Linked DNA regions of Homo sapiens: all the other regions are linked to region 1. Evidence: promoter capture Hi-C in 16 types of primary human blood cells and fetal thymus (Javierre and others, 2016). All regions are on one chromosome and are shown on one strand. Each heading gives the region's core, a stretch centred on a gene start or on the middle of the fragment in contact. The rest is flanking DNA. Distances are from core to core; before and after follow the strand shown.

Region 1 (3,444 bases), core at 293-2,792:
CATGCCCGACCTGGAGTGGGTGGGAAGAGGGAGAGGGTGGTGTGCGAGGAGGCAGCAGGTCACAAAGGGGTTACAAGCTCAGAGGGAAGGGGGATGGGAACTGGAAGAAAGTGTCACCCAGACCAGGGGTAGAAGAACTTGACTTTGGGGAGACTGAGAAAGACCACATGTAAGAGAGAGAGACATGGAAAATGAGGTAGAAACAGACAGAAACAAAGAAAGGCACAAAAATTAAGAGGCAGAGGAAAGGTGAAAATAGCCAGGAGACAGAAACTGCAGGATGAGAGAAATGAATAGAGAGAGACAGAGAGACTAAGACAGCAAAAGGCAGGAAGGAAAAACAGAAAATGAGAAGGTGTGAGAGAGAGAGAGATGGAGAGGTGGAGAACAGAGAGACTGAAATGAGAAAGAGACCTCTCGGAGAGAGACCGAGAGGAAGAGGCTGGCAGAGGGAGAGGGTCAGAGACCAAAGACAGAGACAAAAAGAGAAATAGGGTTTTGCAAAGACTGACTGACAGAAACAGATTTCGAGGGGAGAGAGATCAAGACCAAGTGAGGGTTTGAAGGAGACTTAGGGGAGGTGGAGGAAGAGAAGGAGAGTCTTAGATCCAGGGTGAGGGGCTTCTAGCAGGAAGAGGGAAGACGCCAAGACCGCGCTTGGGAGGTCAGTGGTGCGTCTCTACCCCCCCTGCTCCCCCACTCCAACTCCCAGAGTCTCAAGGCCTCACGTCACACCCCCGTCCCGTCCCGTCGACAAGGGGAACCCCGGCCTGGGAGAGGGCGCCTCCGGGGATCCGTTGCCTAGTCCAGGTACTGCCCAGCTACCGGGCGTCGAGGATTGCGAAGCGTCGGGGCAGGCTGGCACGGTGCCCACTTTTCCCAAAACGCCAGCCTTCCAAGCCCAGAAGCTCGCCCGGCCCAGGCCGGGAGCGGCCCACGTCGGACGGCCGGACCGCCCTGCAGGACCCAGCCCGGCCGCCCGCCCCCGCCGCCGGCGGTGAGGGAGGTGAGCGGCGCCGACCTGCGGGACGAGCATCACTCCGACCCAGCCGGGGGTGAGGCGGGTCAGGATGCTCCGGTCGCAGGAGGAAAAGGAGGAGCTGGACCAAAAGCCCGAAGAGAAGAAAAGGGGAAGGCCGCGCACGGAGCGCGGTAAAGGCCGGCGGAGCTAGACGCCCCGAGGTCGGAGTGAAGCGCCGGGACCGAGCCCCGTCTCCCAGGGAGTCCGGGGCGCACGGCACCGAGGAGAGCGCGGGAGCCAACCTGGGCGCATCATGCGCAGGGCCCGGGACGCTGGGCCGGTCTACACCGCCGCCTGGGTCACGTGGCCCGGACGGGCCGGCGGCTGCCCCGGCCGGGGGGCGGGGGTCGCGCCGGGGTTGCGCTGGACGACGGAGAGCGGCGGGCCCGCAGCGGCCTGGAGCCTCCCAACCCGCGCGCCGCGCTGGCCCCCGAGCGTAGGAGCCGCCCCCTGCCCCCCCGCGCCGGCCCCGCGCCCGGCCGCCCGCCCCCTATATAGCGCGCCCCAGCAGGGCCCGCGCCAGGCCGCCAGCCTCGGAGTGGGCGCGGGACAGTGCGCGGCGCCCCGCAGCCAGGCCCCCGCCCCCGCCGCATCCACCTCCTCCGCCGCCTGCGACCCAACGGGCGCCCCCCGCCGCGGCAGCTGCCGCCGGGCCCCCGCGGCCACCATGAAGAAGGAGGTGTGCTCCGTGGCCTTCCTCAAGGCCGTGTTCGCAGAGTTCTTGGCCACCCTCATCTTCGTCTTCTTTGGCCTGGGCTCGGCCCTCAAGTGGCCGTCGGCGCTGCCTACCATCCTGCAGATCGCGCTGGCGTTTGGCCTGGCCATAGGCACGCTGGCCCAGGCCCTGGGACCCGTGAGCGGCGGCCACATCAACCCCGCCATCACCCTGGCCCTCTTGGTGGGCAACCAGATCTCGCTGCTCCGGGCTTTCTTCTACGTGGCGGCCCAGCTGGTGGGCGCCATTGCCGGGGCTGGCATCCTCTACGGTGTGGCACCGCTCAATGCCCGGGGCAATCTGGCCGTCAACGCGGTGAGTGCCCTGGGGGGGGGGTGGGAGCCTCGACCCTGGGGTGGGCTCAGGACCAGGCCTCTTACCCCACCTGGAAAAAAGGGGTGCCGCAGAGTGGGCCAGCCCACACCCTTCACCAGGAAGGCAAGAGCCTCCCAAGGCCAGGAAGGCAACTCTCCAGGCTGATATGTGCTCCCTTCCTGCCCACCTCCTCTCCCCCTCCCCTCATGCTGGCCCACCCTGGTCTCTCTCCAATGCCTGCTACCCCTCCTCTCCTGCCAGAAACTTCTGCCTCCTCCTGTCTCACCTTTGAGCTCCACCTTCCTCCTGGGCCCCTCACCTCTCCCATCACCTCAGTGGAGCGGTTGAGTAGAACCACCAGAGAAAAGCGGGCTGTCATCACGGCTTTGGGTGACCCTGGCCTGTCTGTGCTTCATTGTTCTCAGCGCCTCCATGGGGATGGTTGTGTCTGCCACAGCAGGTGTCAAGGGGCTCACATTTAGAAACCGTAGATAGGAACCCCCTAATGTGGGGCCAGTGCAGAGCAGTTTCTGTTGAGTATTGGTTCCCTCTTTCCCCAACCTGTGCTCCTCCCCTCAACCCCGCACCCCTGCCTCCCTCCCACCTCCTGCAGCCCCAGAGTCAGCCCCCAACCCCATGCAAACTGGGTTCATTAATCAAACACAGAGGAGGATTTGCTTGGCCATTGTCAAGCTGTGAGTCAGCCGCACTGGAGAGACGGGTTTAAGGCTGGCACTGGCATGGGGCCAGGCACGGGCAGGAGGCCGGGATGGGGTGTGAGGCAGGCAAACCGGGCAGCTGCCCACAGGATGGAGGGTAAATGCCAGCTTATGGGGGCTGGGGGTTGGGCAGAGCCATTGATAGGCCCGTGTCCAGGAAAAGCTACCCTGACGCTCTGCCCTTTGGCCACAGGCCTGAGCTTCAAGCCTGTGCAAACTATGAAATGTACAGTGTCTTTAACAAATGGCTTCGCTGGGGCGATGTCCACAGGACTTGGCTTCCAGGTGCCAAGGTGCTCTAAGTGTCCCTGGAGGCCAAAAGCCCTACTCCCCGAGCCCCTGGCTATACAGCCAGAAGGTGGCCGGGGTCCTAACCCGCTATCCCCTTGCAGCTCAACAACAACACAACGCAGGGCCAGGCCATGGTGGTGGAGCTGATTCTGACCTTCCAGCTGGCACTCTGCATCTTCGCCTCCACTGACTCCCGCCGCACCAGCCCTGTGGGCTCCCCAGCCCTGTCCATTGGCCTGTCTGTCACCCTGGGCCACCTTGTCGGAGTGAGCAGTACCGACATTGGGCTGGGGTGAGGGTGGGGCAGGCACTCAAGGCAAATAATGGAGCCCTGGAGCGGAGCCCACTTCAGATGGATGAGTCCAGCAGAGTTTAAGGCCTGG
Region 2 (3,380 bases), core at 393-2,892, 140 kb after region 1:
CTTTGGGGCTCCCATCATTTGTGCCAGGGACAGAAGCATCCTTTCTCTTCCATCACCCGTAATCAGTGCTCCCAGCTGGCAGCCTGGCACTGGAGCCTTCATCTCAGTGCCAGTGCAATAAAGGAGTGGTCTGTGGGAGGCTGTTTCTGTATTAGGTATAACATTGTGCTAAGAAAAACAGCCAACTACTGATTTCATGTCCGTTTCCCTATGGGAAATTACTGGCCATGGAAGGAGAATATGGTTGGTTTTTCCTGGGCAGTCCCCGGAACTTAGAAAGCCATTTCTCCCCAGTCTTGACCTCCTGCCTGCTTACTCCTACCCATGGGTTGCACACAGACTCCCCTGTAGCCCAGTGCTTGTTACCAGTTGCTGGCCAGCAACAGCCCAGGGGGATGGCAACACCCACCTAGCCGTCTGCCAAGCCAGGAGGTCAGCACATGAGCACACAGTGGTGTCTGCCCTCTAGGCCAAGGTGCACAGTGTTAGGAGCCTCTTGCTCCACTCTCCAGATCAGCCTGGAAACCAGAGCTTCCCTCGTCTTAGACAAACAGATGGCCGTGGGCGATGCAGAGCCCTGAACTGCTGAGGGTGCTCCTTCCATTCTCGCCCTTCCCCAAAAAACATACACCAAACTTACCCCCAATCACAGCATCTGAGACCACAAAGCCCCACGGACACAGCTGCCCCGGGTACTGCCTGCCTTCCCCTTTTCTGGCCTCTGCAAACTAGCCATTCACCTGATGAAGCCCCTGGGGCAGTACCTTGGAAACCCCTGAGAGGAGGAGTTGAAGGAGGCTCAAAGCCTTTCAAGGACAGTGTGCACTCTGCCTGCCTCCTATTCTCTCCTGTCCTCTTAAGCCCAGAGTCTACAACAAAATTGTGTACCGCAATTCTCAGAGCTCTCTAACTTTAACCTTTCCCACCTTCCCTAGAACACATTTTTGGGTGGGGATCATCTGAGAGGCCCATGGATGAGTCCCCAAGATGACCTCTGTGGGTGACCAAGACAATCTTGTCTTTTGAGGCACCTGGAGTCTCTCATCCTTTTTTGAGCTGGGCTGTCCTCAAAGCAGGCCCTTACCTCTTATGTGGCCTCATCTTTAGAGGTGGGAAGTGGGCCCACATCCCCCACCCCAGCCCTGCAGTGGAGCTAGCGTGGGCCTGCTGGAGGACAGAACTGTGGAACAGGGTCCTGTGAGGATATGTGGCAGGGTTGGCGGGGGGATAGGGGGTCATGGAGGAGCCTACCTCTGAAAAGCATTCCCCTAGCTGCTACTGAAGCTAAATACAATTTATTTCATGCTGGGGGACAGAAAGGAGCAAGGGAGAGCAGTCACCTGCTCCTTATCTGGGCTATTTTCTTAGCAGACCTCAAAATGAGACCATGGTGGGAAGCTGGGCTGGGGCCAAGGGAAGAAGCTTGCCAGCACTGTCAGCCGATGAGCCCAGGAGAAAAAGCTGGGCCTAGTCTCTGCCCCATTCCTGTTCCACACCTGTCTGTACCCCTGTCTCTCCTTTCCCTGGCTCTGCCAGACTCTCTATCTCCCTGGGCGCCAGCCTCCCCACCCACCCCTGGAGGGCGGGGCTTGGCTGCACCCACGTGTGGTGGAGTTAAATGCTCCTAGCCGGCAGAGGAGCTAGGGAGTGTGGCACTGAGCCGGCTCAGGCAGAGACGCGGCACCATGGCTAGCAAGAAAGTCTGCATTGTAGGCTCCGGGAACTGGTAAGCAGCTCTGTCAAGTGATATGGGGGAAGGGTAGGCCCCCCAAGACAGAGGTGGGTAGGAGGCAGAATGGGTGGGAAAGGCCCTCAGGTTCCTGTTCAGCCCCTGCTGCTATCTTCTATCATAGCAGCACAGGACAGACGGTGCCCGGCCCTCTCCTGACCCCCGCCCTCCTGGGCAGCTGCACCTGTTCACCATGGGAAGGCGTCTCCAGAGCTCTCTATGTGAAGAGCCGCTTGAGTTTGGGGGTGGGAAGATGAGAAGTGGGGCTCCCTTCTCTAGTAGCAAAGGGTGAGGAGACTGAGTCTCCTTTCTACTGCCAGGTCACTGGGGACTATTTGTCATGGGAGTGGAGGTGATAAGGAAGGTAGGTAGGAGTGAACAGCCTGGGGGGCTGCTGTGAGATCCTGAGGTGGGGCGCTGCCCCAACTCCTGCCACTGTTCCCTCCTCCTGTACTTTCCTGTGCTCCCCCTCCCACCAGGGGCTCAGCCATCGCCAAGATCGTGGGTGGCAATGCAGCCCAGCTGGCACAGTTTGACCCACGGGTGACCATGTGGGTATTTGAGGAAGACATTGGAGGCAAAAAGCTGACTGAGATCATCAACACGCAGCATGAGAATGTCAAATACCTGCCAGGGCACAAGTTGCCCCCAAATGTGGTGAGCCCCAACACCCTGCGAAGAACAGGGAGAGGAAGGGAGGGCCAGGAGTTGGAGCCGACCTTACTCAACAGGTGCCTCCTGCTGAGAGGGCCGCTTCAGGTGCAGCAGGACTTGGGAAGGTCTCAGGAGGGCTGCTCTGGGCCCTTTCCTGAGGACTGAGGAGAACCTATGCTTTCCCCTCACAGGCTCCCAGGCGGGTGGGTGGGGAAGGGATGGGAGAACAAGTTGGTCTCCATGGCAGCCAAAGACTGGGCTCCCAGACTTGGGGTCCAGTAGTGCCTGCCTCCGGCACTAATCCTGTTACTCATTCACTGAGTGAGTAGCCGACTTGGAGGCTGCTCCTTGGACTTACGGTCTTTGGTCAAATCCACGTGGCTCTCCCCACCTGGAAAGGGGAAGCAGGGAAGAGAGCAGAAAGGCTGGGGCTCCCCCTTCCCAGCTGGGGTTCCTGAGGAGCTGGGTGATGAAATCTTATTTGAGCTCTTTCTTTTGCCAAGCCCAGGCTGCTTTTGGCCTCCCGCACTGTCCCACAGCCAAGGGATAGGAGAGTGCTGGGATGAGGTTTCCAGGAGTCCTCAAGAGCCCAGGACAGCTGGAGGGAGACAGAGTGGTAGCTGGGGGGAGGGAGTAGAGTGTCTTATTCCTCCAAGTTCAGTCCTTCTAGATTCAGTCCCAAACAAGCCTTCCTGCTCCCCTACCAGCCTCACTCTTTGGCTCCCAGATCTCCTGAATAGGGTTCCACAGGGGCTAGGGGAGGTCTGCCAGGCCCGCGAGCACTTGGTCACCCCCACAGGTGGCTGTCCCAGATGTGGTCCAGGCTGCAGAGGATGCTGACATCCTGATCTTTGTGGTGCCCCATCAGTTCATCGGCAAGATCTGTGACCAGCTCAAGGGCCATCTGAAGGCAAACGCCACTGGCATATCTCTTATTAAGGTGCCAGGGACACCTTCATGTGGATGGGGGAGGGTGCGGCTCACTGTTGTGGGGTTC
Region 3 (3,420 bases), core at 684-3,183, 200 kb after region 1:
CAAACATAGTATGGTGAAATTTAACAACAGAAACAAAGAAATTATAATTTCACCTCTCTTAAGCCAAATATCTATTTCAGATTGAATAATTAGATTCTGGGTTACTCCTCAGGGCATCTGAGTGGACAAGAATAGACCCTTCTCAATCATTATACTCACATGCTGCACTGAGGCACTGTGCAAGAGTACAGTCCACTGCAATGAACCAGTCAACAGAGGCCCACAAAGGCAAGCCTCTGTGCTTTGGTGGGTAATAATCACCTTTCTGCAGTTCTTTAACAAAATAGCTAAATATGCTTAACTTATGGTCAGATGGCTTTCCAAGTCATCCCCATCAGGTGAGGCTACAGTTCTCTATAGGGAATATGGAAACTTAAAAAATATTTAATAAATGCTCAGTGTGGTTGATGAGAAGGAAGAGAAAGTAAGACCAAATTGTACCCTCTATATTTATTCTTTGGGAGATTCCTGAAACACAAATAGAGACTATGTATCTAGGCACATAGAGTAAGATGCATTTAAATATGCAATAATGATATGAAACAAACAAAGCAAAGTTGGCCAGATGCGGTGGCTCACGCCTGTAATCCTAGCACTTTGGGAGGCCGAGGCAGGTGGATCACTTGAGGCCGGGAGTTCAAGACCGGCCTGGCCAACATGGCAAAACCCTGTCTCTACTAAAAATATGAAAATTAGCTGGCTGTGGTAGTGTATGCCTGTACTGCTAGCTACTCAAGAGGCTGAGGCATGAGAACTGCTTGAACCTGGGAAGCAGAGGCTGCAATGAGCTGAGATCAAGTCACTGCATTCCAGCCTGGGTGAGAGAGTGAGACTCCGTCTCAAAAAAAGAAAAAAAAAAAAAAAAGCAAAGTTCAAGTTAAAAGGATAATGTTAAATAACTAAGAACAGGATGAATACAGATTTGTTCTTCTTCTTTTTTTTTTTTTTTTTTTTTTTGAGACAGAGTCTCACTCTGTTGCCCAAGCTGGAGTGCAGTGGCATGATCTCAGCTCACCGCAACCTCTGCCTCCTAGGTTCAAGCGATTCTCCTGCCTCAGCCTCCCAAGTAGCTGGGACTTAAGGCGCATGCCACCACACCCAGCTAATTTCTTGTATTTTTAGTAAAGACAGGGTTTCACCATGTTGGCGAGGCCGGTCTCGAACTCCTGACCTCAGTTAATCCACCTGCCTTGGCCTCCCAAAGTGCTGGGATTACAGGCATGAGCCACCATGCCTGGCTGATTTGTTCTTTTTTTTTTTTTTTTTTTTTTAAATGTATATGAAGTGTGTAACAGGAAATAAATTTGTTCTTCAAATACTAGAATACTAGAACAAGAGGTTAAATCTTAACACTTGAAAGGGGGTTTAAGGAATAGGAAAAGATGAACGGCCCTATCAGTGAAAGAGAACTGGGCTGGGGAAAAAGACCAGTTGTATGTTGCAACCTCTGAAAAGCTGAAGGATGTTTCTAAGCCTTAGTAACTGTCTGTAAAAGGAGGCCGGAGTTCTAGCTTTTAGCAGTCTATGATTACTACATAAATCATTTCTACAAACTAAATAGGTAGGATTTTAGAATGAGAAAATGTATGCAAGGATTCTGGGCTCTGAAAAAAAGAGAAAATGTAGGAAAGATGACTAATTGTCCCAATATACCTCTTTATCTCTCTCTCTCTCTTTTTTTTTTTTGTGATAGAGTCTTGCTCTATTGCCTAAGCTGGAGTGCAGTGGTGTGATCTTGGCTCACTGCAACCTCCACCTCCCGGGTTCAAGAGATTCTCCTGCCTCAGCCTCCCAAGTAGCTGGGATTATAGGCACATGCCATCACGCCCAGCTAATTTTTGTATTTTTAGTAGAGATGGGGTTTCACCATGTTAGCCAGGTTGGTCTCGAACTCCTGACCTCAGGTGATCCGCCCGTCTCAGCCTCCCAAAGTGCTGGGATTACAGGCATGAGCCACTGTGCCTGGCCTCTCTTTCTTTAAGAGACAGGGTCTCACTCCTTTGCCCAGGCTGGAGTGCACTGGCGCTATCATAGTTCATTGCAGCTTTGAACTCCTGGGCTCAAGCCATCTTCCTGCATCAGCCTCCTGAGTAGCTGGGACTACAGATGCATGCCACCACATCTGGCTAACATTTTTATTTTTTGTAGGATCAGGGTCTCGCTATGCTGCCCAGGCTGATCTCAAAGTCCTGGTCTCAAGCAATTCTCTCACCTTGGCCTCCAAAGTGTTGGGATTACAGGTGTGAGCCACCATGCCAGGCCCCAATATTTATTTATTTTTGAGATGGAGTGTCGCTCTGTTGCCCAGGCTGGAGTCCAGTGGCACGATCTCAGCTCACTGCAACCTCCACCTTCCAGGTTCAAGCCATTCTCCTGCCTCAGCCTCCCAAGTAGCTGGGATTACAGGCGCCCGCCACTACGCGGGGCTATTTTTGTATTTTTAGTAGAGATGAGATTTCATGTTGTTAGCCAGGCTGGTCTCAAACTCCTGACCTCAAGTGATCTGCCTGCCTCGGCCTCCCAAAGTGCTGGGATTACAGGTGTGAGCCAGCATGCAAGGCCATGCCCCGATATTTTTGATATGCCTTCTATTGCATTCTACAAGTGGCTCTAGGCCAGGGGCAGTGGCTCATGCCAGTAATCCCAAAACTTTGGGAAGCTGAGGCAGCAGGATCGCTTGAGGCCAGGAGCTCAGGCCTCTACAAAAATTTATTTTATTTATTTTTCTGAGACAGGGTCTCACTCTATCACCCAGGCTGAAGTACAGTGGTTTGATCACGGCTCACTGCAGTCTCAACCTCCCGGGTTCAAGCAATCCTCCTGCCTCAGCCTCCCAAGTAGATGAGACTAGAGACTATAGGCATGCACCATCACACCCAGCTAATTTTTAAATTTTTTTGTAGAGACAAGGTTTCACCATGTTGCCAAGGCTGGTCTCAAACTCCTAGGCTCAAGTGATCTGCCCTCCTCGGCCTCCCAAAGTGCTGGGATTACAGGCATGAGCCACCATGCCCAGCCTCTACAATTTTTTTTTTTTTTTTTGAGACAGAGTTTTCCTCTGCAGCCCAGGCTGGAGTGCAACAGTGTGATCTTGGCTCACTGCAACCTCTGCCTCTCCAACTCAAGCAATTCTCATGCCTCAGCCTCCTGAGTAGCTGGGATTACAGGCATGTACCACTATGCCCAGCTAATTTTTATATTTTTAGTAGAGATGGGGTTTCACCATGTTGGCCAGGCTGGTCTCGAACTCCTGGCCTCAAGTGATCTCCCTGCCTCGGCCTCCCAAAGTGCTGGGATTACAGGTGTGAGCCACCATGCCCCGCTCTCCCAATTTTTTTTTTTTTTTTTAATTAGCTGGGCATAGTGGTGTGCACCTATGGTCCTGGCTACTTGGGAGGCTGAGGTAGGAGGATTGCTTGA

What was found. Contacts are between HindIII fragments. The CHiCAGO score rates a contact against its expected background, and 5 or more counts as called.
Region 2: a contact is called between the fragment with the promoter of GPD1 here and the fragment with the promoter of AQP5 in region 1, in 7 of 17 cell types (neutrophils, M1 macrophages, endothelial precursors and 4 more). The highest score is 8.5, in neutrophils.
Region 3: a fragment that was not itself captured here is called in contact with the fragment with the promoter of AQP5 in region 1 in 1 of 17 cell types (neutrophils); the score reaches 7.6 in neutrophils.

Annotation. Positions count from the first base shown.
Region 1 is chr12:49,960,330-49,963,773 of GRCh38, forward strand. It overlaps AQP5 (aquaporin 5), which reads left to right and starts at 1,543. Exons shown (of 4, transcript NM_001651.4): 1 at 1,543-2,051; 2 at 3,163-3,327. The coding sequence starts at 1,689. It overlaps AQP5-AS1 (AQP5 and AQP2 antisense RNA 2), which reads right to left and starts at 2,454. Exons shown (of 3, transcript NR_110591.1): 1 at 2,338-2,454. The HindIII fragment of the contact is 7,065 bases long and covers 1-3,444 here.
Region 2 is chr12:50,102,366-50,105,745 of GRCh38, forward strand. It overlaps GPD1 (glycerol-3-phosphate dehydrogenase 1), which reads left to right and starts at 1,643. Exons shown (of 8, transcript NM_005276.4): 1 at 1,643-1,726; 2 at 2,209-2,386; 3 at 3,183-3,323. The coding sequence starts at 1,686. RefSeq lists an enhancer at 653-702. The HindIII fragment of the contact is 4,893 bases long and covers 1,421-3,380 here.
Region 3 is chr12:50,160,936-50,164,355 of GRCh38, forward strand. The region is part of intron 1 of CERS5 (ceramide synthase 5); the gene reads right to left. All of the region lies in intron 1 of LOC124902931 (a long non-coding RNA gene), which reads left to right. Among named protein-coding and RNA genes, the nearest start is that of CERS5, 4.7 kb to the right of the region's middle. The HindIII fragment of the contact is 8,796 bases long and covers 1-3,420 here.